Regions from separate parts of the Homo sapiens genome. Here regions 1 and 3 are each linked to region 2. The links are contacts of gene promoters, found by promoter capture Hi-C in human tissues and cell types (Jung and others, 2019). All regions are on one chromosome and are shown on one strand. The core of a region is centred on a gene start or on the middle of the fragment in contact, and the rest is flanking DNA. Distances in the headings are between cores, read along the strand shown.

The links. The method cuts DNA at HindIII sites, captures the fragments that hold promoters and counts their contacts. A contact is called where the count stands out against the background at its distance.
Region 1: a fragment that was not itself captured here is called in contact with the fragment with the promoter of SCP2D1 in region 2 in 2 of the 25 tissues and cell types used here (spleen and stomach).
Region 3: a fragment that was not itself captured here is called in contact with the fragment with the promoter of SCP2D1 in region 2 in 3 of the 25 tissues and cell types used here (bladder, dorsolateral prefrontal cortex and liver).

The regions. Positions count from the first base shown.
Region 1 is chr20:18,995,175-18,998,117 of GRCh38, forward strand. No RefSeq gene overlaps it. Among named protein-coding and RNA genes, the nearest start is that of SCP2D1-AS1, 170 kb to the left of the region's middle. The HindIII fragment of the contact is 7,902 bases long and covers 1-2,943 here.
Region 2 is chr20:18,812,355-18,815,172 of GRCh38, forward strand. It overlaps SCP2D1 (SCP2 sterol binding domain containing 1), which reads left to right and starts at 1,429. Exons shown (of 1, transcript NM_178483.3): 1 at 1,429-2,024. The coding sequence starts at 1,462. The coding sequence ends at 1,932. All of the region lies in intron 2 of SCP2D1-AS1 (SCP2D1 antisense RNA 1), which reads right to left. The HindIII fragment of the contact is 11,706 bases long and covers 1-2,818 here.
Region 3 is chr20:18,659,409-18,662,308 of GRCh38, forward strand. All of the region lies in intron 4 of DTD1 (D-aminoacyl-tRNA deacylase 1), which reads left to right. Among named protein-coding and RNA genes, the nearest start is that of DTD1-AS1, 38 kb to the right of the region's middle. The HindIII fragment of the contact is 7,579 bases long and covers 1-2,900 here.

The DNA.
Region 1 (2,943 bases), core at 113-2,612, 180 kb after region 2:
GCATCCATACTTCAAGGTCCAGGCAAAGAGGTGCAGCACAGAATAGGGGAGCAAGGCATCCTGTTCTGCTCCGGCACCTTGGGAATCAGGGTTTGGGCAGCTCTGGGAGGAGGGATTTACAAGAGTGTGCTCACGGAGGGCACTGATATTGATGGCCAAGGACCATGACAAGGGCCTGCAATAGAACATGGGAATATTTGTGCCTTTACATCTGTAAAACACCAGCTGGGAACATTCCAAAATAGTGGGAGGAGATGAGGGAGGACCTGTGTCCCTGCATCGCCAGGTGCAGCCTTGGAGCTGGGACAGGTATATGATGTGAGTATGTCCTCATCGTGTTCATAGTCACGGGTGTTTGGGGAGGGTAATAGAAGGTTAAAGATACAGTCACAATCATAGCCATTTTTGGTAAATTGCAGTGGCAGTCATGTCTGTGTGTATGTGGCTAAAAAGTGAAAGACAAAAGTTGAGTGGGTGAGTGTGTAAGACTGACATTTATACCAAGTACCTGAGTCATTCTGAAGCAGGTGGCCTACCACATGGCCTTGTTGATTAAAAAAAAAAGACCACTCTTCCATGACATGTCTGCTACACTGAGAATCCTGTCATTTCTGTGGCTGGGATTTGAATCTCAGCAGGAGAAGAGGAGTTGGGAATTTTTAACTGAAAAGAGGCCATATGGCTTCAGTGTTTCAATATGGAAGATGTCTCCTAGAGACATCCTGGGGACATTGTAGCAGTCCTGGACCTCTCCAGAAGGTGGTCACCATTTCATGGCATGATTTTTTAACAACATTCACAGGAAATTTATAATTCCTTCAAGGAAAATTATGAGACTTCTAAATGCTACTGTGTCCAATATATTTTTATCATTCAAAAAAGATTTTTTCTCATTTAGCAAAATGCATGTTGACTTTTGAAAAATCAAAGAAAAATTTGAATAAGCAAATAAGATAAAATCCCTTTACATCTTAACACTCAGATATATCCAATATTAATAGTATATATACATAAAAGACACAAAATAATAAATCATAAGTGCCTGCATTTCTCCCCTCCTTTTCTGAGAAGGGATGTCTTTATTATTCTGGGTAGAGAGATTGGTGGAAAAGAAATCTGGACAAGCTGAGAGAGACCAAGTTGATCTATACAGGAAAGGGCATGGAGATACCAGAAGGAAGAAAAATAGGGAAGGGGAGGAATTTGGAAGAGAAGGGGGAGGGGGTGCAGGGAGAGAGAAGAGGAGAAGGAAGAGAAGAGAGTAGTGAGGAAGAAAGGCAGAAAAGCTGGGAGTTTTGGGGAATGGGAAAGATCAAAAAGAGAATAGGAGGATATCCCAATAGATGTAGTACTGAGTAGAATTTTAAGGAAAATATGGCAAAATATGATTATTAAAGAAATATTTGTGGCCAGGCACGGTGGCTCATGCCTGTAATCCCAGCACTTTGGGAGGCCTAGGCGGGCAGACCACAAGGTCAGGAGTTCGAGACCAGCCTGACCTACATGGTGAAACTCCCTCTGTACTAAAAATACAAAATTAGCTGGGCCTGGTGGTGCATGCCTGTAAACCCAGCTATTCAGGAGGCTGAGGCAGGAGAATCATTTGAACCCAGGAGGCAGATGTTGCAGTGAGCTGAGATCGCACCATTGCAAGCCAGCCTAGGCAAGAAGAGCAAAAAACTCCGTCTCAAAAAAAAAAAAAAAAAAGAAAAAAAAGAAATATTTGTTAAACACACCATCAGAAAATTTATTAACATACATTACCCTTCAGTTCTGGCTTGATGATTGGAGTTGTATTAAAGCCTGAAGATGACCCAGTATTATGACCTGCCATTTTTTACTTAACAACATGTGTAGAACATAACCTTTAATGGTTACATAACATTCCACTGCATGAAAGAATGTACTATAATTTATTTAATTCATTCCTCATTGGTGATTGGGATTATTTCTTTTTTTTTGGTATGATTCTAAGCAATATACCAATGATGAATAACCTTATAAAAAATCTTCATGCACATGTATGATGATTTACGTATAGGATGACTTCCTTTGGATACATTTCTTAAAGTGGATTTACTGAGCCAAAGGATTATAAAATATTATAGCTTTTAATACTCATTGCTGGACTGTCTTACAGAAAACTTAACTAACTCTTCTCCCATTGTGAGTATAGCTCCTCATCTATTGATTCTAAACCATCTTCCTTTGCATTGTAACAATATCCTGAGAGTAAGTCAGCCAGAATGTAAGCTCCGGAAAGGCAGCAGTTCTCTCTGACTTTACATAACATGGACGGGAGCTCAATACACACCTTTGAATGAATGAATGATTGACGTGCTGGGTGGCTGGCTGGCTGGGATTGGAGTACTCAAGGGCAGGGTTTCTATTTATCCGAAGCCCTCTAATGTCTGGTACACTGCCAGGCACAAAGTAGGTATCTAATGCTAATACTCTCAGGAAGTTGGTTTTGGTCCAGCTATATTGCCATCTGGGAGTCAGTAATACTTTTTAATCTAAGAAAGTGGATGGTTGACTTGAAAATGTCTGAATTCAGAAGAAGTCTACTGCCCCAAGAATGGGTTATATTTCCTGGAGGATTGTCTACCAATATTTAGTACAGCATCCATGCTAATGACTTCTGTTGATAAGTTTCTCTTGGGGTAGGCCCAATCTGAGTAAATCTTTGCTGTCTTCAGATAACAGACCAAGCAACCTCTTGGACATTGCTTTAAAATTCTGTGTTGTGAAGATTGAAGGACAGAACGGATGGGAGGCAACTAGCGCAGTGCCTGGCACAGAGTTGCCCCTCAAAAATGGTGCCTGTTACTGTGAGTAAGTCCATCACTCATCAGTGTTGCCTGGCCTCATCCATTTAAGAATAAAGTGAGGCTGCGTGTGGTGGCTCATGCCTATAATCCCAGCATTTGGGAGGCCAAGACA
Region 2 (2,818 bases), core at 179-2,678:
CAGTCCTCAAAGGAGGGACATTTTTGGGAATAACTGGCCAGTATTCAAGTGTCAAGGTAACGATAGACAAAGATTGAAGAGCTGCCCCAGACTGCAAGGCACTAGGGAGACCTGCAACCAAATAGATATGGTCTCACATGGTCTGTAGATTAGTTAGTAGTCATGAACCAATGTGAATTTCTCAGATTAGATCACTGTACTGTGATTATATAAGATGTTAGTTTTGGGGAAAGCTGGGAGAAGGTTAAACAGGTACTATTTTTGCAAACTTTTTATAAGACTGAAATTATTTCAGAATAAAAAGTAAAGAAATAAACAGGTGGACTTTGGAGTCATTCTGCCTCTCCTCAAATCTGGCTACACTACTTACTAACTGTGTGACATTGGGCAAGTTACTTCATTTCTCCCCTCAGTTTCCTTATATGTAAAATGGGGATAAAAAGAATACCTATCTGGGAGGCCGAGGTAGGTGGATCACTTTAGCCCAGGAGTTTGAGACCAACCTGGGCAGCATGGTGAAACCCCATTTCTACAAAAAGTACAAAGATTAGCCAGGTGTGGTGGCACACGCCGTATTCCCAGCTACTTGGGAGACTGAGGTGGGAGGATCAAATGAGCCCAGGAGGCAGAGGCTGCTGTGAGCAGAGATCGCGCCACTGTACTCCAGCCTGGGTGACAGAGCAAGACCTTGTCTCAAAAAAAAAAAAAAAAAAGAAAAAATACCTATCATAGAGGGTTGTAATGAGAGTTAAATGTGTTAATACATGTGTAGTACTTAGAACTCTGCACCTTGGCCCAGAGCAAGGGCTATACTATTACGTGTAATTATCAGAGGAGACTGGCAGCATCTTCTGATCTTAGGGACATTTAATCTCTCTGTGTGTGTCTCACTGTGCTTCTGGAAAGTTTCTGATGCAGGCTCCTGGACTGATTCCTTCTCCAATCAATTACTCTGGCCTAAAAGCATTTCCCTTTCTACCAGCAGCCAGATAAAGCCAAATTCAGCACTAGGATCTGTAGTATTAACTTAAGTATTACCCACTTAATGGGACTTAAGTGTTACCTAGTTTTAGAGGAATAAGAATAACTTCTGTCTCACGTTGGGTTTCACTGAGGAGATGTCTGCATTGGAAAGACAGAGCTCATGTCACTAAAGAAGCTTCTGGGGCCAGTTTCCCTTAACCCCATTGCAGCCTGCAGACCTTTTGGGCTTGCAGGACCAACATCCCTGATTGGTTTGGGAGGGGCGTGTGTGTGTGGATCTGCCTCACAATGGCCTGTCTGAGCCCTTATCTGAGGTCACACGTTATCATTTGTTTGGCCAATAAGACTGTAGCACACACACCAGCTTCAGTCCCCACTTGGCCTTACCTTTGATGTCACAATCTGACCTGTGGGTATTAATCTGGTCACAGCTGCTCACAGACTAGATGGCAAGGTCCAGGGGACTAGCACAGGAAGATGTGGAAGAGAAGTGACCATCAACCCAAGATCAAAGCAGAGGATGGACCTCTGGTGGGCCAGTTCGAGGTTCTGGGTTCAGTTCCAGAACCTGCCATGCCACATCCTCTAGAGCTGTCAGAATTTGAGAGCTTCCCAGTGTTTCAGGACATTAGGCTTCACATCAGGGAAGTGGGAGCTCAATTGGTCAAGAAAGTCAATGCCGTCTTTCAGCTGGACATCACCAAAAATGGGAAGACCATTTTGCGGTGGACCATTGATCTGAAGAATGGTTCTGGGGACATGTATCCGGGACCTGCCAGGCTCCCAGCAGACACTGTCTTTACAATCCCGGAGTCTGTCTTTATGGAGCTGGTTTTGGGCAAAATGAACCCGCAGAAGGCTTTCCTTGCCGGAAAGTTCAAAGTGAGTGGCAAGGTTCTGCTTAGCTGGAAGCTGGAAAGGGTTTTCAAAGACTGGGCTAAATTTTAAGCATGCAAAAATACCAAGGAAGAACTTCTCTTCGATGATAATGTCGAGTGGAAATCATGCTTAATCTGAAGATTAAAGTAAAAAGTATCCAATATTTTTACTCAAATTCTTCCTATTCAAGTTTAATTGATTTTCCTGTTGATGGGTAAATTTTCAGGGAGGGTTCTGAAGCAGTAAAAAGCGTTGTAGTGCATCAATTAGAATCTTTGTCTTTTTCTCTTTTTTTAGCTCCATTTATGCCCTTTATGCTCCATTTATGCCAGGGTGAGAGCCACGTGTAAAGAAATGGGTGATTATGATCATTGGAATTAAATACTCCAATGATTGTGTTCTTGAGACATTTTTCCTTTTCTAAAAAAGTTTGATGTTTTGGGGAAAGAAGTGATAACTATCATTGTGCAGGTGTGCATTCTGCATGGTAACTTGATTCCATGAGGAAACTTTACTATGAGACTGTGGGGTGCTAAGGGAATGGGGCACCACAGGTCTGTGGGTGGAACCCAGGCAATAGAGGGGATGGTGCTGTTGGTGTATTATAATTTCTGATGGTTTCAATTCCAAGAAACTTGAAGGGCTTGGGAGGTGTTCTAGGCCAGTGGTTCTTAACTGGAGCATGCATCAGAATCACCGGAAAGGTTGGTTAAAGTCTGGATTGCTGGGCTCCATCTCAGAGCTTCTACTCAGGAAATCTGGGCTGGAGAGAATGCACATTTCTAACAAGTTCCCAGGGGATGCTGATGGCACCACCCTTAGAGAATTCCAGCTCTGCTTCACTTCATGCCAAAGCTCTCAGTATTGACTGTAACTATTCTATTCTAGGCCAATGAGATGGTGCCATTAATTAAAGGATCTCCCAGAGACAGACCCCACAGCCCTCTGTGAGCCA
Region 3 (2,900 bases), core at 353-2,852, 150 kb before region 2:
GCCCTTTCCATTATATTCATGATGTTTAATTTCTCTTTTGTCATATCAACTTAAGCTTGAAATTGAGATTACTTAACCATATCTTTTAATGTCATGCTCAGGTTTGTTTAATTTTTTAAATGTTGTCTTTTATAGAGTTTATTATGGTTAATCAAAAAATATATTTTTTTAAGAATGAGTTTATATTCTTTGGAGGGACATGGATGAAGCTGGAAACCATCATCCTCAGCAAACTAACATAGGAACAGAAAACCAGACACTGCATGTTCTCACTCATAAGTGGGAGTTGAACAATGAGAACACATGGACACAGAGAGGGGAACTTCACACACTGGGGCCTGTCAGGGAGTGGGGGGAAAAGGGAGGGAGAGCATTAGGACAAATACCTAATGCATACGGGGCTTAAAACCTAGATGACAGGTTGATAGGTACAGCAAACCACCATAGCACATGTATACCTATGTTAGCAAACCTGCACGTTCAGCACATGTATCCCATAACTTTAAAAAAGAAAGAAAGAAAGAAAAAAAATATTTTTTTACCAGCTGGGCATGGTGGCTCACATCTGTAATCCCAGCACTTTGGGAGGCCGAAGTGGTGGATCACTTGAGGTCAGAAGAGGAGTTTGAGACCAGCCTGGCCAACATGGTGAGACCCTATCTCTACTAAAAATACAAAAATTAGCTATGCGTGGTGGTGGAAGCCTATAATCACAGCTACTCGGGAGGGTGGAGGTTGCAGTGAGCTGAGATTGCACCACTGCACTCCAGCCTGGGAGCCAGAGCGAGACTCCGTCTCAAAAAAAAAGTATTTTTTATTTTTATTTTTTGAGATAGGGTCTCGTTCTGTTGCCCAGGCTGGAGTGTAGTGGTGTGATCATGGCTTACTGCAGCCTCAACCTCCCAGACTCAAGCAATCCTCCCATCCTAGCCTCCTGAGTAGCTGGGACTATAGGTGCACACAAGTACGCTTGGCAAATTTTTGTATTTTTTTGTGGAGACAGGGTTTTGCCATGTTGCCAAGGCTGGTCTCGAACTCCTGAGCTCAAGTAATCTGCCTGCCTTGGCCTCCCAAAGTGCTGGGATTACAGGCATGAGCCACCGTGGGTGGCCCAAAAAAGAAGCTTTTATTTAGCAAAGCAGAAACTGAAAGAAAAAGGAAGAAAGAAAACAAAAAGGCTTTTTATTACAAAAAAAATTATTTAGTATAAAGAGAGTTTAAAATAGACATCCTATCGGCTCATTTTAGCAACTTTGAGAAAATTGTGAAATATAAAATATTAAATAAATCCAGGGGATATATTTTGACTAGATAAAAATTAACCCTATATACCATAAACAAATTCAGAAGAAAAAAGTTAGGCTAGGAAAAAATATTTGTAATATTTTAAATTGAATTTTGTATTGAGGTTACTATATGTCACATGCAATTGTAAGAAATAATACAGTGAGATGCTGTGTACCCCTCACCCGGTTTCTCCTAACATGGAAGCATCTTGCAGAACCACAGATAATATCCCAACCAGGATATTGACAGTGATTTTATCTACCCACCTTTAGGCTGAGGTTCATTTTCTTTGCTTCTATAGATGTCTTGTTGATCCAGCACTGTCTTGCCTCCATTTTTATACCTTTGTCAAAAACTAGTTAGACTTGTGTGGTCTGTTTGTGGGCTCTGTTTTGTTCATTCATCTTTGTGCCTATCCCTCTGCCATTATCACTCTATCTTGATCACTGTAGCTTCATAGTAAGCCATAATGTTGGGTACAGTATTTCCTCCCACTTTATTCTCCTTTGTTAGACATGTTTTTAAGCAGTTCTAGGACCTGTGCCTTTCTGTATAAATTTTAGAAAAAGCTGTCTGTGACTACAAAAAATGATGCTGGGAATTTGATAGGAATTACATTAAACCTGTACTCAATTTGCAGAGATTTAACTTTTTTACTGTGTTGAGTCTTCTAGTCTTTTTTTTTTTTTTTTTTGGGACAGAGTCTTGCTCTGTCGCCCAGGCTAGAGTGCAGTGGTGCGATCTCAGCTCACTGCAAGCTCTGCCTCCCAGGTTCATGCCATTCTCCTGCCTCAGCCTCCTGAGTAGCTGGGACTACAGGTGCCCGCCAGCACGCCTGGCTAATTTTTTGTATTTTTAGTAGAGACGGGGTTTCACCGTGTTAGCCAGGATGGTTTTGATCTCCTGACCTCGTGATCTGCCCGCCTTGGCCTCCCAAAGTGCTGGGATTAGAGGCGTGAGCCACTGCACCCAGCTGAGTCTTCTAGTCTTTAAACATGGTATTCCTCTCCATTTATGAAACTTTGTTTAAACAAAGTAATAATATTTGGAATCCATAAAGAGCACCTACAAATCAATAAGGAAAAAAAGGCTGAAGAGCCATAGGAAACGGAGAAAAGGCTGATAACAGGTAATGTCCAGAAGAAATATAAATGGACATTAAGATTTGAAAAGAGACCAGGCACAGTGGCTCATGCCTGTAATCCCAGCACTTTGGGAGACTGAGGCAGGAGGATTGCTTGAGGTCAAGAGTTTGAGACCAGCCTGGGCAACATAGTGAGACCCTGTCTCTACAAAACATATAAAAATTAGCCAGGCATGGTGGTACAAGTCTGTAGTCCTAGCTACTTAGAAGGCTGAGGTGGGAGGATCGCTTGAGGCCAGGAGTTCAAGGCTACAGTGAGCTATGATTGCACCACTGCGGTCCAGCCTGGGTGACAGAGCGAGACCCCATTTCTTAAAAAAAAGTTGTGAAAAGACGTTCAGTTTTCCTGATGATCCAGGAAATGCAAGTTACAAGCTCCCATGTTTTGCCTTGTTAGATAGGTAAAAATTAAAAATCAATAATACTAGCAATTTTTGTTGGCCAGGCTGGTCTCGAACTTCTGACCTCA